Linked DNA regions of Homo sapiens: regions 2, 3, 4, 5, 6 and 7 are each linked to region 1. The links are contacts of gene promoters, found by promoter capture Hi-C in blood cells and fetal thymus (Javierre and others, 2016). All regions are on one chromosome and are shown on one strand. Each heading gives the region's core, a stretch centred on a gene start or on the middle of the fragment in contact. The rest is flanking DNA. Distances are from core to core; before and after follow the strand shown. Region 1 holds the start of UBE2E2 (ubiquitin conjugating enzyme E2 E2). Region 2 overlaps NR1D2 (nuclear receptor subfamily 1 group D member 2). Region 3 holds the start of NR1D2 (nuclear receptor subfamily 1 group D member 2). Region 4 overlaps UBE2E1 (ubiquitin conjugating enzyme E2 E1). Region 5 overlaps UBE2E1 (ubiquitin conjugating enzyme E2 E1). Region 6 has its middle 60 kb from the start of UBE2E1. Region 7 overlaps UBE2E1 (ubiquitin conjugating enzyme E2 E1).

What was found. The method cuts DNA at HindIII sites, captures the fragments that hold promoters and counts their contacts. A CHiCAGO score of 5 or more calls a contact.
Region 2: a contact is called between a fragment that was not itself captured here and the fragment with the promoter of UBE2E2 in region 1, in 3 of 17 cell types (fetal thymus, total B cells and activated CD4 T cells). The highest score is 7.3, in fetal thymus.
Region 3: the fragment with the promoter of NR1D2 here is called in contact with the fragment with the promoter of UBE2E2 in region 1 in 11 of 17 cell types (fetal thymus, naive CD4 T cells, activated CD4 T cells and 8 more); the score reaches 16.1 in fetal thymus.
Region 4: a fragment that was not itself captured here is called in contact with the fragment with the promoter of UBE2E2 in region 1 in 7 of 17 cell types (fetal thymus, total B cells, naive B cells and 4 more); the score reaches 15.9 in fetal thymus.
Region 5: a fragment that was not itself captured here is called in contact with the fragment with the promoter of UBE2E2 in region 1 in 7 of 17 cell types (fetal thymus, monocytes, total B cells and 4 more); the score reaches 9.6 in fetal thymus.
Region 6: a fragment that was not itself captured here is called in contact with the fragment with the promoter of UBE2E2 in region 1 in 1 of 17 cell types (M0 macrophages); the score reaches 5.1 in M0 macrophages.
Region 7: a fragment that was not itself captured here is called in contact with the fragment with the promoter of UBE2E2 in region 1 in 8 of 17 cell types (fetal thymus, naive B cells, total B cells and 5 more); the score reaches 14.2 in fetal thymus.

What each region holds. Positions count from the first base shown.
Region 1 is chr3:23,202,046-23,204,745 of GRCh38, forward strand. It overlaps UBE2E2 (ubiquitin conjugating enzyme E2 E2), which reads left to right and starts at 1,282. Exons shown (of 6, transcript NM_152653.4): 1 at 1,282-1,419. It overlaps UBE2E2-DT (UBE2E2 divergent transcript), which reads right to left and starts at 948. Exons shown (of 2, transcript NR_136176.1): 1 at 819-948. RefSeq lists enhancers at 1-930, 343-402 and a silencer at 753-1,442. The HindIII fragment of the contact is 2,247 bases long and covers 584-2,700 here.
Region 2 is chr3:23,960,540-23,963,239 of GRCh38, forward strand. It overlaps NR1D2 (nuclear receptor subfamily 1 group D member 2), which reads left to right. Exons shown (of 8, transcript NM_005126.5): 5 at 1,438-2,066. Among named protein-coding and RNA genes, the nearest start is that of NR1D2, 17 kb to the left of the region's middle. The HindIII fragment of the contact is 1,713 bases long and covers 395-2,107 here.
Region 3 is chr3:23,943,926-23,946,625 of GRCh38, forward strand. It overlaps NR1D2 (nuclear receptor subfamily 1 group D member 2), which reads left to right and starts at 1,361. Exons shown (of 8, transcript NM_005126.5): 1 at 1,361-1,669. The coding sequence starts at 1,654. LOC124909354 (a long non-coding RNA gene) reads right to left here and starts at 1,255. Exons shown (of 2, transcript XR_007095845.1): 1 at 1-1,255. It also overlaps a transcript of NKIRAS1 not described here. RefSeq lists silencers at 1,225-2,414, 1,911-2,452. The HindIII fragment of the contact is 14,696 bases long and covers 1-2,700 here.
Region 4 is chr3:23,866,038-23,868,737 of GRCh38, forward strand. The region is part of intron 3 of UBE2E1 (ubiquitin conjugating enzyme E2 E1); the gene reads left to right. Among named protein-coding and RNA genes, the nearest start is that of NKIRAS1, 50 kb to the right of the region's middle. The HindIII fragment of the contact is 926 bases long and covers 906-1,831 here.
Region 5 is chr3:23,843,966-23,846,665 of GRCh38, forward strand. The region is part of intron 3 of UBE2E1 (ubiquitin conjugating enzyme E2 E1); the gene reads left to right. Among named protein-coding and RNA genes, the nearest start is that of UBE2E1-AS1, 38 kb to the left of the region's middle. The HindIII fragment of the contact is 4,321 bases long and covers 1-2,700 here.
Region 6 is chr3:23,744,965-23,747,664 of GRCh38, forward strand. No RefSeq gene overlaps it. Among named protein-coding and RNA genes, the nearest start is that of UBE2E1, 60 kb to the right of the region's middle. The HindIII fragment of the contact is 2,191 bases long and covers 255-2,445 here.
Region 7 is chr3:23,821,302-23,824,001 of GRCh38, forward strand. All of the region lies in intron 3 of UBE2E1 (ubiquitin conjugating enzyme E2 E1), which reads left to right. Among named protein-coding and RNA genes, the nearest start is that of UBE2E1-AS1, 16 kb to the left of the region's middle. The HindIII fragment of the contact is 9,608 bases long and covers 1-2,700 here.

The DNA.
Region 1 (2,700 bases), core at 32-2,531:
AGCAATTAAGCAGTGAAAGATCTTCCAATCCTTTCCTCCACAAAGATAGAAGTTAATTTTGCTGCATCCCTGGACACCCCGTTGCCAACGACCCAGCATTCCGTTGGTAAGTGAGGCTGGAGGTTGGAGTGGGAGAAATTTCGTGGAAGCTAAGTTCGCAAAGCAGGTACGTTTTTTTTTTTTTTTTAAACGGTTATTTGGGATGAGGAGTACAACGGAACCTAATGTTCCCTCATGCCACCTACAGCACTGCTACTGTTCCCATATCCTTCAACTGGGCATGAAGGCAGCTTCCCACTCACTCTGACAGTGGTGCACCCTGTACCCCCACCCCTCTCTTCAATACCCCAGGGCTAAACGGCCCGAAGCTCCTCTCTACCGGCTGGTGCGCATTCTGGGCCAGGGCGAGCCAAAAGGCAGAAGGGCCTTCGTGCTGCAGTGTCTGGTGAAGACTCAGGCTTAGCCTGGAAGAAGTTTCCAGGCCAACGTGAAGTTTTCCTGTCTTGGGTACATGCGAGCCCCACGCGTCTGCGAGTTTGGGTTAGTGTGTCAACAGGGTCAGTCCCCGTATCTACTTTGCGAAAGCTTCGAGGCGAGCGTGAAGTCAAGGGCTGCGGTGGATGGGGGTAAAAGGCCTCCTCGTCCCACTGCCTGCACCGTCTTGGGGTAACCCCTAACCCCCAGCCGGCGTTTCCCTTTAATGCGCGTGCCCGGCAAGGTCCTCGCGTCCCCTCCCCTCAAGCCACCCCGTCAGCCTCGGTTTCCCCCACTTCTCCCCGTCCTTGTCGTTCCTTCCCCGTGGGACGCCCCTCGCTCACCCCCGTCAGAGCCCAGTCTGCGCGCGGGACCCAGCTGTCACTTTACTTTTCCTCGCCGCCTCCCCACCCCCTCTCCCGACCGGCGGGGCAGCCCGCCCGGGCGCGCTCCCGCCCCCGCCCCCTCGCGGCCGCGCGCCGGAGGAGGAGGGGCGGGGGGAGGAGGGAGGCGCGCGGCGCCGCATGGCCGACGTGGGGCTCGCGCTCTCGCGGTCTCTCCCGGGCGGGCGCGCAGGCACGCGCACTCGCGGGTGCGCGCGCGGACGGCCGGGCGGCGGCGGCTCCCGGAGGTGGTGGCTTCACTTTCCAGGACTCAGGGGCAGCCACAGCGACAGCCGCGGGCAGCAGCCTCAGGAGCCGGAGCTGGAACGGCCGGGGGCGGCGGCAGCGGCGGCGCTGAGGGTGAGTCCGGGCGGGCGCGAGCGCGGCGGGGACAGGCGTGGTCGGGTGCGTGGTGCGTGGGTCCGGCTTTCGGTGACTAGACGGTCCGCAGGGGACATCCCGTCCCTGGGGCCTCCCCAGTCTCCCTCCCCCTCGCGCCTGGGCAGCTCTCTCCCAGGGCTTCGGCTCGAGCCTGCGACCTGCACGGACACCCCCCCCTCAGGTATTCGCTCGGGCCGCGCCGGTGCCTCCCCTCCTCGGGCGTCCTCCCTCTCGCTGACGTCCTCCTCACTCCCCCGACCTCCCCTCCGCGTCGCAGGTCTCTGCTTACACCGCTCGTGCCCTAGTTCCCTCCTTCCTCGCTCCCCGTGCCCGGTTCCCTACGCCCCCTCCCGCGAGCCTCCTGCCCCCGTTTCTCGCCCTTTCTACCCCTCCCCCTTCTTCCCATCCCCCCCTTCTGCCTCTTCTCTCCCTGTCCTCCTTCTACCCCCTTCCGTTCTCAGTTCCCCATCCTTCTCAACCCTCCCAGCGCTTTCCTTCTCCTAGCCGCATCCTGGAACTAAGTCTTTTCAAAAGTACAGGATAAATGTCACGGTGGAAAGTGCCCGGCTTGATCTTTTGCTATTTTCCCTAATTGCATAATTGCTGCACATGGTGTGTCTCCTGGCGAGTGCCGGGTTTGGCTCCTTCGCCGCCGCACCCCGGTGGCCCGCCCGGAGAAGACCTTGTGGGGTATATTTGTGTGTGTCCTGGTGAGGGGTGTGTGTTGTATTGGTCTTTTGTGATGCCTGGCGCTTGTCACAGTTTGGAACCGAAGCCCATTTTTCTCTGGTCTCTTCTCTGCAGCCCCCACTGGCCTGGTTTGAAACTGGATTCCCTCTGTCCTCTCCCCCTTCCCGCCCACCCCACTTCTCCCCCTCTTTTCTCCGATCTCTCTCATAATGTTTTGATCTTTTTGCCCTTTACCATTTCTAATGAAGATAAAGCGTGGCTTCTTGTGGCTTTTTTCCCCCACGACCAACCAGAAATGTCCAATCCATCTTCCCTTAAGGAAATTAAGGCTGCTTTAGAAAGACATCATCCTGTGCTCGGTGGCTGTTAGACCCATTTGCATGTTTTCAAGATTCATCGTTTTGTATTGTGTATTCTTGAGAGTCTACTAAAATATTTTTATTTAAAAGTACGAAAGGAAGTGCTAGGGTTTACCCTCAAAGTATCTCGCGGTTCTAAAGGATTTTACGCTCTTCTTAGTTTTTAATCCCTGATTTCTTTAAAAAGTATGTTTCTAGATATGTGATAATTCAGTCTGGACTTTGTGAATCTAAATATTTGCCTTTACTACGGCAATTTGGATGCTCCTTGGCTCTTTGGAATTCTGTATGTGGGCTGACGCTGAAATAGAGTGTTTTCATATAATGCCATACCCCATTCTCTTTCCCCTGCAGCACCTTTTACCCCCAAATCAGGTGTTCCACTGTTATTTTCTGCATAAATGTCTTTGCAG
Region 2 (2,700 bases), core at 1-2,500, 760 kb after region 1:
CAGGCTGGTCTCGAACTCCTGACCTCAAGTGATCCACCTGCCTCGGCCTCCCAAAGCGCTGGGATTACAGGTGTGAGCCATCAGGCGTGGCCAGGAGTTTTTTGAGTAACAGATTTCAGCAATTGATGTTTTGTTTTTTCAATTCCCTGAAATTTTTTTTATAGTGCTAAAAGTACTAATGCTATAAAAATAGTTGATGGATATTGTGATTGCCCTGAAAGAATAAAACTGACAATCATTTGTGAAGGGAGGAGTAGAGATAAAGTATCAAACATGATTAAGTTGTTTGTTTTTGGTAGCAATAATGTTAGAGGCTACAATTAGATTAACGAGGCTTTCTGGGCAAGTATACTGAATTTTTATTATCTCTGTGTAAATACTAGACTGTGAAAGAAGCTTTTCTTTCTCTCATGGATAGGATTATTGGAGACAAGACACCTTCTAAGACTAGCTTCTAAAAGAATAGAGGATGACTTATCTCATTTTTACTTATTTCACTGGTTTTAATTAAAATCTACCAAGTTTATTTTTCAGTAAGTGCATTTCTACTGATTGTGGAATTTTTTTTAAGGATTTTTTTTTTAAAGAGGCTGGAAAAGAAGACAGCAGATAATTTCATAGTTAGATCTTGAGAGCAAAGTTACAAAAATGAATTGACAAGGGCCAGGTGTTCAGGGAATGATTTCACCTACCAGATTCCATTAATGGTAATGGATGTGTGTAGCTGAATCACACATGCCTTGCTGGGAACAGTCCTCAGCTTTGTTAGTAAGGAGCTGTGTAGTAATACTGGTCTGCTTCAAACTGGTTTTCATTAGCTAATTTCATATTTCTTTTTTCTTTTTCTTTCTTTTTTTTTTTTTTTTTTTTTTTTAAGATGGAGTATTGCTCTGTCACCTAGGCTGGAGTGCATTGGCACCATCTCGACGCACTGCAACCTCTGCCTCCTGGGTTCAAGCGATTCTCCTGCCTCAGTCTCCAGAATAGCTGGGACTACAGGCGCCCGCCATCACACCTGGCTAGTTTTTGTTTTTTTAGTAGAGACGGGGTTTCACCATATTGGCTAGTCTGGTTTCGAATTCCTGACCTCAGGTGGTCCACCTGCCTCAGCCTCCCAAAGTGCTGTGATTAGAAGCATGAGCTACTGCACCCATCCGAATTTCCTATTTCTTTTCTTAGACTTTGCTTATAAAATACCTAGGAGGTAGATGTCCTTAACTTTGTTGTGGGGGGAAAATAGAAAATTTTCTCTCCCTCTCCTACTTCCTTTGGTGCATCAAGACCAGCAAGTTTAGAAAAATGTGGACCAGAGACATGTAGACTCATTCTTTATATGTATGACTAGAGGCCATAACTGTTGGATAATTTTGTGTTATTCTTTTATACAAAACAGGTCTTATTTAGAATATAGACGTTAAATATCTTTTTCTTCAATAGCTGTTCGGTTTGGTCGTATTCCTAAGCGTGAAAAACAGAGGATGCTAATTGAAATGCAAAGTGCAATGAAGACCATGATGAACAGCCAGTTCAGTGGTCACTTGCAAAATGACACATTAGTAGAACATCATGAACAGACAGCCTTGCCAGCCCAGGAACAGCTGCGACCCAAGCCCCAACTGGAGCAAGAAAACATCAAAAGCTCTTCTCCTCCATCTTCTGATTTTGCAAAGGAAGAAGTGATTGGCATGGTGACCAGAGCTCACAAGGATACCTTTATGTATAATCAAGAGCAGCAAGAAAACTCAGCTGAGAGCATGCAGCCCCAGAGAGGAGAACGGATTCCCAAGAACATGGAGCAATATAATTTAAATCATGATCATTGCGGCAATGGGCTTAGCAGCCATTTTCCCTGTAGTGAGAGCCAGCAGCATCTCAATGGACAGTTCAAAGGGAGGAATATAATGCATTACCCAAATGGTCATGCCATTTGTATTGCAAATGGACATTGTATGAACTTCTCCAATGCTTATACTCAAAGAGTATGTGATAGAGTTCCGATAGATGGATTTTCTCAGAATGAGAACAAGAATAGTTACCTGTGCAACACTGGAGGAAGAATGCATCTGGTATAGTGAAATCGATTTTTTGCTTACATTGTATCAGGGAAAGCTTTGAAAATTTTCTTTTATTCGGGAGATATGCTAACTTGGGGGGATGGTGTCAGGAAACCTAAGAAATTTACAGACTTAATTTTGTACAGTATTTTAGGTCAAATAATTTTAATAAACATCTTCTGATGAATGACCTAATTTCACACCCAGCTAGGTACAAGCATGTGATTTGATTGATCTGAGATTGGGATTAGGATTTTATGTAAAATATGATTCATGCAGAATTGGTCCTTTAATTCTTGGAAATCCCTTTGAAAATTTAAGCATTCTGGTTAATTAGTACCTTACTAGCTTTGGGATTTTCTCAAAGGGCCGAACTTTTCGCTTGCCATAGTTAGAAATTCTTTGATTTCTATAGAAAGAGGTTTTTTTTTTTTTTAACCATTATTATGCAAGAAGGTCTTTGGATATAGAACATAGATGTTTTATTGTTTGATAAATTTAGGAGTATTTTAATTTCATAGGCTAATTTCTAAGGATTTTCTCAGACTTCATCTTATGAGATGACTTAATGTTGGTCATATCATTGAAGCTTTTCTATTTTTCCATCAAATACGACATTCTACATCAAAGTACAGTGTTCATATTC
Region 3 (2,700 bases), core at 111-2,610, 740 kb after region 1:
GTTTTCAGCAGAGTAATCAGATCTTATTTACATTTTAAAAATAATACTTTGACTGCTGGGGAGAAGTGACTGTAGGAGGACCCAAGAAGCACTCTCCTAGTTAGGGAACCAGAGCAGTAGCTGAGGCAAGAGATAATGGTTTGCTCTAGCAATACCAACGGTGAGAAACAGGGATTGAACATATTTTGAAGGTAGAATAGCTCAGACTTGCTAATGGATTGAATGGAGAATAAAAGGCTGTGAGAGTGTTAGGAGAGAAACATAATTTTGCTGGCTTCAGGAACTTGCAGATTTACCAAAACAGTAAATATTGATATGGTGAAGAAACCTGGGGGGTGGGGAAATAGGGTGTTGCACATGTAAATATGTCTTCCACGTGACATTTTCCCCACCTTCTATAGTGAAGAATTTCAGAGCAAACTGGAAAGAGTTTTACAAGCAACACCCATATCCCCATCGCCTAAGTTTAACATCTTACCATATCATCTATTCATGCCTCTATCAGCCCATCTTACTTCAGTAATGCGTTTAAATTGCGGGCATCAATGCACTTTCCTCAGAATTCACCTCAGCACGCATACAATTTATGTCTAGCTTTTTTCTTTTGATCTAAAATTTACATTCAAGGTGAAACGCCCAGATCTTGACTGCACATTAGCTGAGTTCGGACACACGCGTACACCCGTCTAAAATCTGAGATGCAAAAAAGCGGCATAATCAAACGGGCTGCTGGATGTAGGAATCTGGAGATTAGAAGAGAGGTCTTGGCTTGAAATATAAATCTGGGAATCACAAGAACATAGGTCTACTTAAGCTATGAGATTGGATAAAATCACCTAGAGGGTGCAGAGGGAAAGGGAAGGGTCTGTGCCCTCAGAGACCAGCGTTTGGAGGTCGGTCGGGTGGGAGCGGGGGGTGGGGGTGGGGGGCGCAAGGGTTGAGCAAGCCCGAACCAGCCGGCCCAGCCGGGGTCCTGAGAATCACCCTTGCTCGGCGCCAAGCCACCGCTTTGACCTAAGAGCCACCAGGTTGGGGGGCAGGGCGTGGAGAGGACTCCCGGCCAGAGGCGGGAAAGGCAGCCGGGAGGAGAGGAAAGAGGAGGAGGAGGGGAGGAATATGCGGCGGAGGGAAACGGAGAAGAGGTTTACGGCACGGAGGGGAAAAACGAAGGAAGAGGAGGGGCTCGGCAAGGAGAAGGAAGGGGAGAAGGGGGAAGCGCAGGAGAAAAGGGTAGCCGGGGAGCCGGGAAGCGGGCGGGAGGGAGGGGAGCGGCGGGGCGGAGGTCGCCGCAGCGGCCGGCCGAGGGCGGGCGGAGGGAGGGGGTGTGTGCGCGGGTCACATGGTCGCGGCTGCCCTCCCCGTCAGCCGCCCTCGCCGCCGCGGTGCGCTGGCTGCAGGAAGCCGCCGCGCCGCCGCTTTTGTTGTCAGGGACCCAGCGAGGAGCGCCGCTCGCCGGCCGCCGCCACCCTCTCTCGCTGCAGCCTGCTGTGCGCTGCACGGCCTGGGGCCCGGGAGCCCCGCCCGCTCTGCCCATGAGGGGGCCCCGCGACCACCGCTGCTTCCAGCCCGGGGCGGCGCGGCGCTGAGGCGGCGGCGGCGGCGCTGCCCCCTCTGCGGGAAGCGGGCGGCCCCGGCCGCCTCCGCGAGGGCACCATGGAGGTGAATGCAGGTAAGAACCGGACTGCGGCGGGTGGGGGATGGCCGGAGGGAGCGCTCAGAGCCCGCGGGGCACTTTGGGGGGCGGCGGCAGGGGGTGTCCCCATGGCCGGTGGGGCGGGGTGGGCTGCTGCGCGCCGCGTGTCCGCCTCTGGCTCGGTTCCCATCGCCCCCCGGGCCGCCCGGCGCCCGCCCTCTTGTCTCCCTGCAAAGCCGCAGCGCGGCCTGCCGGCGCCCGGCCCGGCCCCCCCCTCACATGGCCCGGCCGCGCGAGCCACGTGCGCGCTGTGTTTACGTTCGGCGGCGCGCGGGCGCCGGTTGGCTGGGCGGGCGCGTGACGCGGCATTACATAATGGGCGCTGAGGCGGCGGCGGCGGGCGGGGACACGTGAGGCCGCTCGGCTCCCTGACCCACATTCCCCGGGGCCGCAGGGACACGTGGGGGCGGGGGCGCGCGCGCGCGCGCTGGCTGGGAGCGCCGCAGCCTCCCGGGAGGCTCCGCCCCTTTGGAAGCCTCGGGGCAGTGACGTCGCCGCGATTCCCTCCTCCCCCGCGGGGTTGCACACTGCGGAGGAGGCCGCGCGTGCGCGCCCGCTGAGCCCCCGCGGCGGGGCGTCCCCGAAGCGGGCGCTGACACCGCAGTGCACCGGACGCCGCACGCTCTTTTCGCGAGGTGACCCCAAGGCGCGGACCCCGCGCAAACCAAACGAACCGGCGCCTGGGGAGGCTGGTAGCTGCATACCTTGCAGATTCCGAGGAGGAAGTGCAGGACGAGGGCGTGCTGCAGGCCGGAGGAGGCGCCTCGGGGAAGGCGTGGGGCTTTCCCGAAGGGATACGCTCGAAGGAGCTCTGAGGTGCTTCGATCCCGAGCGACTCCCCGCAGACTGGGTAGCACCGCCCCTGTTAGGATGCCGTCTGTTTACAAAAAAAACCGTTTGCTCTAGGACGCGACCTGTCTCATACACACACAGTCTTAAAAACTGCTTCCAGATCCCTTCGGGCTGGAGTTTTCCAGTAAACGGGTCACACCCGCAGCTGAGCGTGC
Region 4 (2,700 bases), core at 119-2,618, 660 kb after region 1:
ACCAGACCCTCCCCTCCAAGCCCAGCCCTGTATTTGACATGCAGGGCATAACCTCACTCATTCAGTCTCTCAGCCCTATGCAAATATAAACAGCCTTCCTCTTGTCTCTCCAGGCCAGCCGGGGCCAAGAAAGAAGCCAGTGATTCCCCCAAGTGCAGTAAATAGCTCTCCTCACCTCCTGACCCTGTTATTTCCTGGTAGTTCTGAGTTGTGGATCCTGCAGTGGAGAGGGAGGGAACAAAGAAGTTGCAGAGGCCTCAGCTTCACAGAGCATTGAGCAGTGGGTGATATTGTATCCTCAGGCAGGGGTTGACCTCACATTTCAGTGCAGGTCATTCTAATGACTGCTGGACCTCCCAGTGCCACTGTGAACTAGAATGGAATAGAGTGAAGTGGATCTGAATTCCTGGACTGTGGGACCAACCTAACTTCTGAGCTGGAGAAAGTAGGTCTCATGTTCTATACCTGCTTTTTTTTAGCTCTAGGGGGAAAAAAGAATTGTGCATCTTTCTTGTTCTCTTTGCAGCTTAGGGGCATAACGTTTGGACTGTAATTGAACTGATGCTTGTTTCCCCAAAATGTCTTTGGTTTTCATTAAGGTGGGGGATTCTCTGCATTTTTGGAGTTGTCACATTATTATCGAAATTCCTCTCCACACTAAGTACTGTGTGTGGTATGCTTTTATTTTCACCTAATTGATTTCTGCAAATAAAGTGATTTAATTTTTGGTATTAAGAAATTTAAATAACACCTTTTGGCAGATCACAAGATTTTCTTGTTCTTATTTAATCCTGGCTTCCATCCAAATGTGAAAGAGAAATGAAATAATAAGGTAGGAAAGGCAGACCAGTAATTGTGATTAAACAACTTTTGTGTTGAGTCCAAAGACAGGTAACTTTATTTTAAGCTTCATGGGTGTAGTAAAAATATATCACCTTAAGAAAACCTGGATTGCCATTAGCCAGAACTGACTTCCAGGCTTTCTGACTTTGTACAAACAAATCACTTAATCCTGAATCCTTCTCCTCATCTTTTTTTTTTTTCTCTTTGTTTGTTTTTAAATGTATTTCTTTATTTTGTATTACTTTCTTCTTGTCTTTTTTATATTTTATGTATTTTATTTTCCTCATCTTTAAAATGGATAAATGTTACCTTTCCTGATTCAAAGATTCTAGGCAAAGATCAAAAGAAGTCAAAGTTTGTGAAGGAACTTTGAAAATTATATATTTCTCTGCAATTGTGTTAGGGTACTTTTCTGTCTTTGATTTATGTTGGTTCTTGGAGTGATACTTTAGATGTACAAATAGTAGGTCAGAACAAACCTGTATGTAATAAATTCTGGAGAATTGAGTTCAAACTTTGGTTTTGCTTATATTTGGATAAATTATCATCAACTTTGTTGAGGTGTAATTTATACACAATTAAATTCACCCATTTCAAATCTTCCATGTGTTTTGACTGTTTAGATAAATTGACAAATAATTATCTTAGATAACAGTTGGTATTTCTACATTAAAGAAGGGAGAAAGAGCACCCTCTTTTGGCAAAAGTTTCTCCTGTGTGGGCTCTCCGGTCCCCCTGTCTCATTTCAAAATCAGATTTGCATCCTGCTGTTGGAGTACACTTGAGCCCTTTCATTTATACTGGTGCAGGTTTTGTAGTCTCTTAGAGATTCAGTATGTCAGTCCCATGTCTGAGAGCAAAGGAGAAGGAAGAGGGTAGGAAAGAGCACCTGAATTGAATAGAGAGGAGGGAGCAGAGAAGGCAGAACAGTGAGATAGTATCCATTTAGTCTGAGTATTTCCAAATTTTCCAATAAAATGTCAGTGGAAGCTTTTATCATAAGGCCAAAATCTGTCCTTCAATGTGACCACAGAGCCACAGGAGACCCAAACCCCTTGTAGTCACTGATGATTTTCATTGGGCTATAGATGGGAATGGCAGCAGTCATAAATATTTCCTATGAATGAGTGTTCTAGATATTTTTTACCCAAAGATGTAGCATATCAGTGGGTCACTATTGAAAACATGTTTGGAATGAAGCAGGAAAATAAGTCAAAAGATCTCCCCTCAGTTCCTAAGCAACTTTGTTGTAAAAATAACTGTGAAAACTGGGCTTAAATGAAACATACATTCGAATGCCTGGAGTAAGAATTATTGATAGCCCAGACTTAGTATCCCCCCCACCTTTCCAAGTCCTTAAAGCATTGGCTTTCTACTCAGAAACGCTGCTTACCCTAGGGTGACCATAGTTACTTTTATTTTTTATTTTTATTTATTTATTTATTTTTAGATGGAGTCTCCCTCTGTTGCTTAGGCTGGAGTGCAGTGACACGATCTCACTCACTGCAACCCCCACCTCCTGGGTTCAAGCTATTCTCCTGCCTCAGCCTCCTGAGTAGCTGGGACTACAGGCGCCCACTAACACACCCGGCTAATTTTTGAATTTTTATTAGAGATGGGGTTTCACCATATTGGCCAGGCTGGTCTCGATCTCCTGACCTTGTGATCCGCCTGCCTCAGCCTCCCAAAGTGCTGGGATTATAGCCATGAGTCACCATGCCTGGCCACTTTTACTTTCTCTTATTACTTTACTTTCTACATTAATAGGTAGATTAGATTCCATCTCTTCTACCTTTATTTTGTCCTTCAGAATAGAAATTGGGAAGTAAACACAGTGTTGTTTTTTTTTTTTAATCT
Region 5 (2,700 bases), core at 19-2,518, 640 kb after region 1:
TGACTTAACGATATCTTCTTGATATTTCTTCCACCATGTGTAATTTTTTATGCTCTTAGGGCTCCTTTAATGAAGGCAACTCATATGTAAAATGGGAGTATGTAAAAATAATTTGTGGGAGAGCCATGTGGGTGGGGTTTGTGAGTAGTCTCTAAGGCGCAGGCTACAGCTAGCTAGCCTAGTGTTTGTGAGCCCTCCCCTTCCCCCAGTAAAGGTTGATTCCTTTTTCTCCTCTTTCCTGCTTGTTTATTTTATTCTATTTTATCCTCATTTTCTACTTCTGCCCCAAAAGCACCCATTCTAATGCCTTTCACTATATTGTTTGTGTTCTTGTAAAATGTATTTAGTGTTTGTATTTTTAACTTACATAAATGATGCCTAATTCTTTCTTACATTTTTCTAAGCACAATGTTTTAAGCTCTCTCCCTGTTGCTATGCAAGCATCTAATTCATTGCGTTGAACAGCCACATAGTATTCCAAGGGGTATACTCATTTTATCTTATAGAAGACCAGATCGTTTCCAGCTCTCCATCCCCACTAACAGTGAACATTCTGGTCCGTAATCTTTTTTGGACCTCTGTAAGAATTAAGCAGAACTGCAAGGGGATCATAGGGCTTACTTAAATTTGATTTGACTTAAGTTGTACCAGATTGTTCCCCAGAATGGCTGTACTCATCTCCATGCCCACCAGTAGCAGAGCATGAGAATTCCTGTGTCCTCTTAGGTGCGTTCTGATTTTCTAATTTTTGCCAATCATACTCTACACTTACATATGGAGAATATGTTCATGAACATGTAGGTCAGTCTTAGGTGTTATGCGTGGGAGATGGGTTGTTGCTCTCCCAGATATGAAGACGTGCTCCAATAATACTACACTGTATTTATTACCGTAGCCCTGTGGTAAGGTAAACAGACCAATGAAGCTGACTTGGAGCACCCAGAGATGGACATGTGTATATGTAGGATTTTAATATATAATATATAATTTATGGCAGCACCAAACACTGAGGACAAGATGGGATTGTTCATAGATGGTATAGGGAAATTGACTCACCACAAGGAGGTAAATAAAACCGGATTCCTACTTAATACCATATATGAAGGTAGACTAGGTAGATTAAAAGCTCACATGTGAAATTTTAAAACTATACAATGAAGAAAGAAAATGCGACCCACAGGCCAGGAAGGATTTCCTAAGTGTAGCTTCAAAATCACAAATCTTGACAATAAACTAAAGCAAATTTTATGTGAAATTAAAATTTTCTTCTTAATGGACAGGATATTTTCTTCTTTTTACCTCAAGATCTGTGTGTCTGGCAGAATGCATTGCACACTCTTCAGGAGTGGGGAGGCTGAATTGGCTATGCACATATATACTCTCTTGATAGAAGGAAGAAAGCCTCTGTTTACCAAGTTGCCCCCATTTTATTTAGCAATGAAATTGTAAGCCACATGACAATTCCCTTTTTCTAAGCATATGTAGGAGTAGAGTGTAGATCAGTGTTTTCTGAATATATTGTCTGTATCAGAATTACTTGAGGCAGTTGTTAAAAATGGAAATTCCTCTTTTGTCCATCTCCCCACTGTTTTGGTTTCTCTCTCTCTCTCTCTCTCTCTCTCTCTGTGTGTGTGTGTGTGTGTGTGTGTGTATGTGTGTGTATGTATATATATAATTTTTCTTTTTAAACAAAACCTCTCTAGGGTGGAGTTTGGCAAAGTTATTTAGCAGAAGTCCAAGTAGTAAATATTCTAGGCGTCATAGGCCATTTGATCTCTGTTAGAACCGTTCAACTCTACCCATAGTACAAAAGCAGCCATATACAATTCATAAATGAAAAAATGTGGTTGTGTTCCAATACAGCTTTATTACGGACACCGATTTCAATTTAATAATTCAATATAAAATTTATTAATAGTTTTCACGTGTCATAAAATACTAGTTTTCTTTAGATTTTTTTAATCACTTAAAAATGTGAAAACCTTTCTTAACTAGTAGACCAAACAGAAACAGGTTGAGGGCCTGATTTGGCCCATGTGAGTCATAGTTTGCCAACTCTTGCTCCTTAGGCAACTAAGGTTTTCAAACCAGTGCCCTAGCTTATCTGATAGTTAACTGTCATTCTCTGTATTATTTGGGAAAAGTTCTTACATCAGTAACATGAATTTTCAGTACCTGTAAGAGAAAGTAGTTCTTAATGGTCAGGAAGGGATAATTAAATAAATGTCTTACATAAATCTAGTTTAAGGTAAATGTAATGTTGAAACATTTGGTTTTTTAAATTCCTTTTAAGCCTATTCAAGAGTGGGTAATAGAGCTGGGTGCAGTGGCCCATTCCTGTAGTCCTAGCTACTTGGGAGGCTTGAGGTAGGAGGATTGCTTGAGGCTAGGAGTTTGAGTTCAGCCTGGGCAACATGGCAAGGCCACAGTCTCTTAAAAAAGAGAATGGGGCCAGGTGCAGTGGCTTGCACCTGTAATCCCAGCACTTTGGGAGGCCGAGGTGGGCAGATCACCTGAGGTCAGGAGTTTGAAACCAGCTGGCCAACATGGTGAAACCCCATCTTTACTAAAAATACAAAATTTATCCGGGTATGGTGGCACATGCCTGTGGTCCCAGCTACTCGGGAGGCTGAGGCCCGGCAATCACTTGAACCCAGGGGGCGGAGGCTGCAGTGAGCTGAGATCGTGCCACTGCACTGC
Region 6 (2,700 bases), core at 100-2,599, 540 kb after region 1:
AGTGTTTGGATGCAAGTGTATACAGGAAGCCGAGAGAAAATGAATGGGAAAATCTTCTGCCTCTTCCCCTTTAACTCAGGTTCCTAATCCTTTATTTTCTTCAAGTTTCTAGTGGCAACAAATTGGGGGGATGAGAGAAGAAAGGTTTAGTTTGCCCCATCTTTAACCACATTATTCCTCTTTATTCTACAAAAGTAATAAAAATCATGCACCCACACCCATACCTTAACAAAGTATCAGAGTTACACAGAGTAAGCTTATCTTTTTACAAGAATGGGAAACTGAGCGGGGCCCGGTGGCTCACGCCTGTAATCCTAGCACTTTGGGAGGCCGAGGCAGGTGGATTGCCTGAGCTCAGGAGTTCGAGACCAGCCTGGGCAACAGGGTGAAACCCCATCTCTACTAAAATTTAAAAAAAAAATAATTAGCTGGACATGGCGGCGTGTGCCTGTAGTCCCAGCTACTGGAGAGGCTGAGGCAGGAGAATTGATTGAACCCGGGAGGCAGAGGTTACAGTGAGCTGAGATCGCACCACTGCACTCCAGCCTGGGCAGCAGAATGAGACTCCATCTCCAAAAAAAAAAAAAAAAAGAGGAAACTGAATCCCACAGTTAATAATATAGTTTAACTAAAATCCAGTACTCAACTGATATGTTTGGGTAGACTGCTTTTCTTTGAAGAGGAAAGAATGCTTTAAAACCCAAAGGTCTTAACTTTCAGATTTTGCCTAGGTCATTCTCCATTGGCTATACAGCTGCTAGCCTCCCACCTCTGTCCATGATACCCCTCGGTTGTTCAAAGACTCAGGTCAAGACATGAAAAAAAATGTGGTATGGATCTGGTGCAACTCTGACATAAATTGTTGTCAAATTGACCCATCTTCCGGTAGTGGAGGTGATTGGAAATTGGAAGTTCCCAGCATTGATTCTTGTTCATTTCCACTCTGACACTAGCCTTTTCCCATTTTCTTTTTTTTTTTTTTTTTTTTTGAGACAGGATCTTACTCTGTCCCCCAAACTGGAGTGCAGTGGCATGATCACAGCTCACTGCAGCCTCGACCAGGGCTCACGTGATCCTCCCACCCCAGCTTCCTGAGTAGCTGGGATCACAGGTGCGCGCCACCATGCCGGCTATTTAAAAAAAAATTTTTTTTGGACAGACAGAGTCCCACCTTGTTGCCCAGGCTGGTCTCAAATTCCTGAACTCAAAAGATCCTCCTCCTGCCTCGGGCTCCCAAAGTGTTGGCATTACAGGCGTGAGCCACCTGCCCAGCACCAGCCTTTTCTTATCTTAACCAAGCCTCGCTTCCCTCAAGTCATTTAAAATAGGGGAACTTTATTCATAAGACTCCAACGCTCAATAGCCCACCCAGCTAATAATAATAATAATGATAATAAAAAGTCTATGTGGAAACCTGTGATAATCCAAATAACTAATTCTAGCCATTAATTTCAGCCTTCTCCCTCACTGGGAGATTCGAGAGCTGCGAAACACCAAGAAATAAATCACTGAGCTTCGCTTCTCACAGTCTACCGTCTGGTGAAGGTGCTAATGAGCAATGATGTGCCCCACAGGAAGGAAGAAATTAGGGAAGGAGGAGAGGGACAAGAGCACACAGGGGCTGGGAATCCAGCCCTTGGTGACTCAAAGTTGCCTAGACTTTTAACCAAATCTGTTTAGGTTTTACTTCTCCAGGTTTCATTAGCCATTAGAAATGCAAATTAGTTAGATTCCTCCAGAAAACATTACCCTGCTTCCCCCATCTCCGGCCCTCCCTTCTCCCCCTCCCCTTCCTTCCTGCCTTTCTTCCTTCCTTCCCTCCCTCCCAGCAGCATTGTTGAGCATTTATAAAGTGACCGTCACACCATCGGTTTTACATTGCAATGTCAGGGGCCTGAAAGTAGATATAAACTGCCAGTTTTTCCAAGGCTGCCATCAAATAATTGAGCTGTGGCCTCTAACTAAATTCCAGGAGGAAAAGATTTCTCAAAGCTGGGCTAATTCTCTTTGTTTATAGCTATTTTATGTATTTATATATTTGTTGTATATATACATGTGTATATATATATATGTTTTATATATGTAATTTTTTGGCTCTTTTTTTTTGAGAGGGGGTCTCACTCTGTCACCCAGCCTGGAGTGCAAAGGCTCAATCTTGGCTCACTGCAACCTCCACCTCCCAGGTTCAAGCGATTCTCCTGCCTCAGCCTTCCAACTAGCTGCGATTACAGGCGCTCGCCACCACGCCTGGCTAATTTTTGTATTTTTTAGTGGAGACGGGGTTTCACCATGTTGGCCAGGCTGGTCTCGAACTCCTGACCTCAAGTGATCCGCCCGCCTCAGCCCCCCAAGGTGCTGGGATGACAGGCTTGAGCCACCGCACATGGCCCCATATGTAATGCTTTATATATAACAATGAGAATTCTTATATTATGTCCATTTGAAAGCTTGACCTTGTCTTTTGAGACGGGGTCTTGCTCTGTCACCTAGGCTGGATTGCAGTGATGCAATCATGGCTCACTGCAGCCTTGAACTCCTGAGCTCAAGTGAACCTCTCACTTCAGCCTCCCGAGTTGCTGGGACTGCAGGCATGCATCACCACACCTGGCCAACCTTGTCTTTTTCATTATAGACACTGAAGAATGAACAAAATGTAACTGCTTTTCCAATAAGTATTTTCTTTAAAAACAAAACTCAGTA
Region 7 (2,700 bases), core at 82-2,581, 620 kb after region 1:
CCTAAAAGATAGGAAAGGAAATGGCCTTGTGAAAAGTACCAGAAGACATCTGGGACAGAGGGAAGGTAAAAACAGGCCCTGAGGCGGGGACAAGTCAGGTGATGCTGATTATGTAAACCGTGCTAAGTAGAGAGTTTGGATTTTTCTCAATAATGCTTTAAAAGTCTTTTCCCACCCTCCCTGCTGCATGGAAAATAGCTGGGAGGAAGATGCTAGTGGAAGAAGGGAGACCAGAAAGGAGGGTATTGCTCTGTTTCAAGCTAGCTGGTGCAGGTGGCTAGGATTAAGGTAGTGGCAGTGGAGATATGGTAGAACACTGGGACCTGTTGTTGGATTGCATGTGAGAGATGAGGGACAGGAACAAAAATGACTCCAAGTTTCTGTGTTTTTTTGCAATTGGCTAGATGATAGTGATGTTTTACTGATAGGTAGACTCCTAGGCCTAGAATAGGGCCGTAGGGCGCGTGTGTGGTGGGTGGCAGGGGAGATGAGGGCAGGGTGGAAATGACTCCTTTTTGGACTTGATAGATTTGAAATCTGTTCCCATGAGGCATCCAAATGAAGGTGTCAAAAATAAGTTAGACATAGGTAATTGGAGCTCTGAGATACATACACATTTGTAAAGGAGACCTTACCAAACAGAGGCTCTTGGGTGTCTTGGGAATGCCTTTCTCTCTCCTAGAAAGGAAAGGCATCATGAGAAGAGTGCCCAGGATGAAGACTCAGGCATCTGGCATTTAGAAGTGTACACTAGGAAAAGCCAGCAAAGGAGACAGAAGGAAAATCAAGAGAGTGTGGTATTAGAAAGCAGTGAGTGGAAAGTTTTGAGGTAGAGTGATCAAGTGGGAAATGGTGCTGTGCAGTAGAAAAAGATGAAGACCAGCAAGTAACCACTAGATTTTACCTCAGGTTTGTTGGTGACCTTCACGTGTCAAACCTGGTTTAGAGGAGAGACAATGGAAAAGGAGGAATGATTTTCAAGAATGAAAATGTGTTTGTATTACTCTTCCTAGTTAAAATATTTCATTGTATTTATCCAGAAAAGTGATCTGGTGTTATCTACTTTCTACACTTTAGGGCAGAATTTCTTAACATAGTATATATAATTTTGTGGGGAGGATGGGGAAAGGGCCCACCATTTTCAGTGGATTCTCAAAGGAGTTTTTTTTTTCTGATCTCCCCTCTTTCCTCACCAAAAAAAGTTAACTTCTACTTTACGAGATTCAAGTCCTTTGTGATCTTTAGGTTAACGTTGTACCATGCATGTTACAAGTAAATAGTGTCAGGTTCATGTATTACATCTTGATGAATCTCTTTTTCAAGACTTGGTTTGAAATTACTGGATAAATTGGAAAATCAGTAAATTGCTGCTGCCATCCTTAAAAATATTTTACATGCTTTGATTTGCATCGACCTTTTGTATTCTGTTCAAGCTGGAGAATGCACTAGAATGAGTTGGATATATGTATTTACTTTTAACACAGCATAAGTTACTCATCATATTTAATGTTTTTCATCCCCTCCCCCATCCCCCCACCCCCAACCCCCGCCACCGCCCTTCCAGAGACGGAGCCTTGCTCTGTCGCCCAGGCTGGAGTGCAGTGGTGCCTTCTTGGCTCACTGTTACCTGTGCCTCCCGGGTTCTAGCGATTCTCCTGTCTCAGTCTCCTGAGTAGCTGGGGTTACAGGCATGTGCCACCACGCCCAGCTAATTTTTGTATTTTTAGTGGAGATGGGGTTTCACCATGTTGGCCAGGCTAGTCGAAAACTCCTGACCTTGTGATCCACCTGCCTTGGCCTCCCAAAGTGCTGGGATTACAGGCATGAGCCTCTGCGCCCATCCTGTTTTTCATCCTTTTAATATGGGCTGTTATGTTAATGCTTTACATTGGATATACTTAGAACTCTTAAAGCAATCATATAAGCATTGTCTTTTTAATTGTCCACTGATCATGTCTTAATAATTTGTTTCAGATTATGCCAGATACTCTTGGTCCTGCTTACCTTGATAATTGAGGGTAGAATTAAGAAAGTTTTAGGATTAGGAATCATTCTTCTAATTCAGAGAGTAATTAGTTGGAATCACAAAAGCATTAGGTGCTGAACTGCCAGAGACAAGCAACAAATAATATGTGGAACCACAACTGTTTTGGCTACGTAGGAATTTTGCTCCACAAGTAATTTAAATTGTTCCTACTACCACTTACAACCTTTCCTCCTCTATGGGGGTACATCTCAATTTTTAAGTTAATATATTAGAATTGGTGTTATAAAAATTTATTTCTTAGCAGACTTTGCTACAACACATTTATCCTAAATAAAAGGAGATTGTTGACTTTGCAGAGAAAAAGACCCTAAAAGAAAACATTTGTTTTATTACAAGCACCCAGGAGGATTTTTTATAAACATGAAAGATAACTTTCCTCTAACCTAAGTAAATATTTCAGAACCAACGTATGTTAAGTGATTATAGTAATGTGTGTGCAGAGACTGGCAGTAAAGTTAGCAGCGTCATATACTACTTGCTAGTATATCACACTGCTTTGGCCTTTTTCTGAGTAACCCTCTCTCTGGAAGTCTTCAGAATGCCTAACTTCATCCTTCAGGGAGACTGGTAGCCCCCGAAAAGACATTTATTTTTTGTAGCTTGGTATTCTGAGATGTTCTCACATCCAAAGTAAACACTGTCAAGTGATTTGG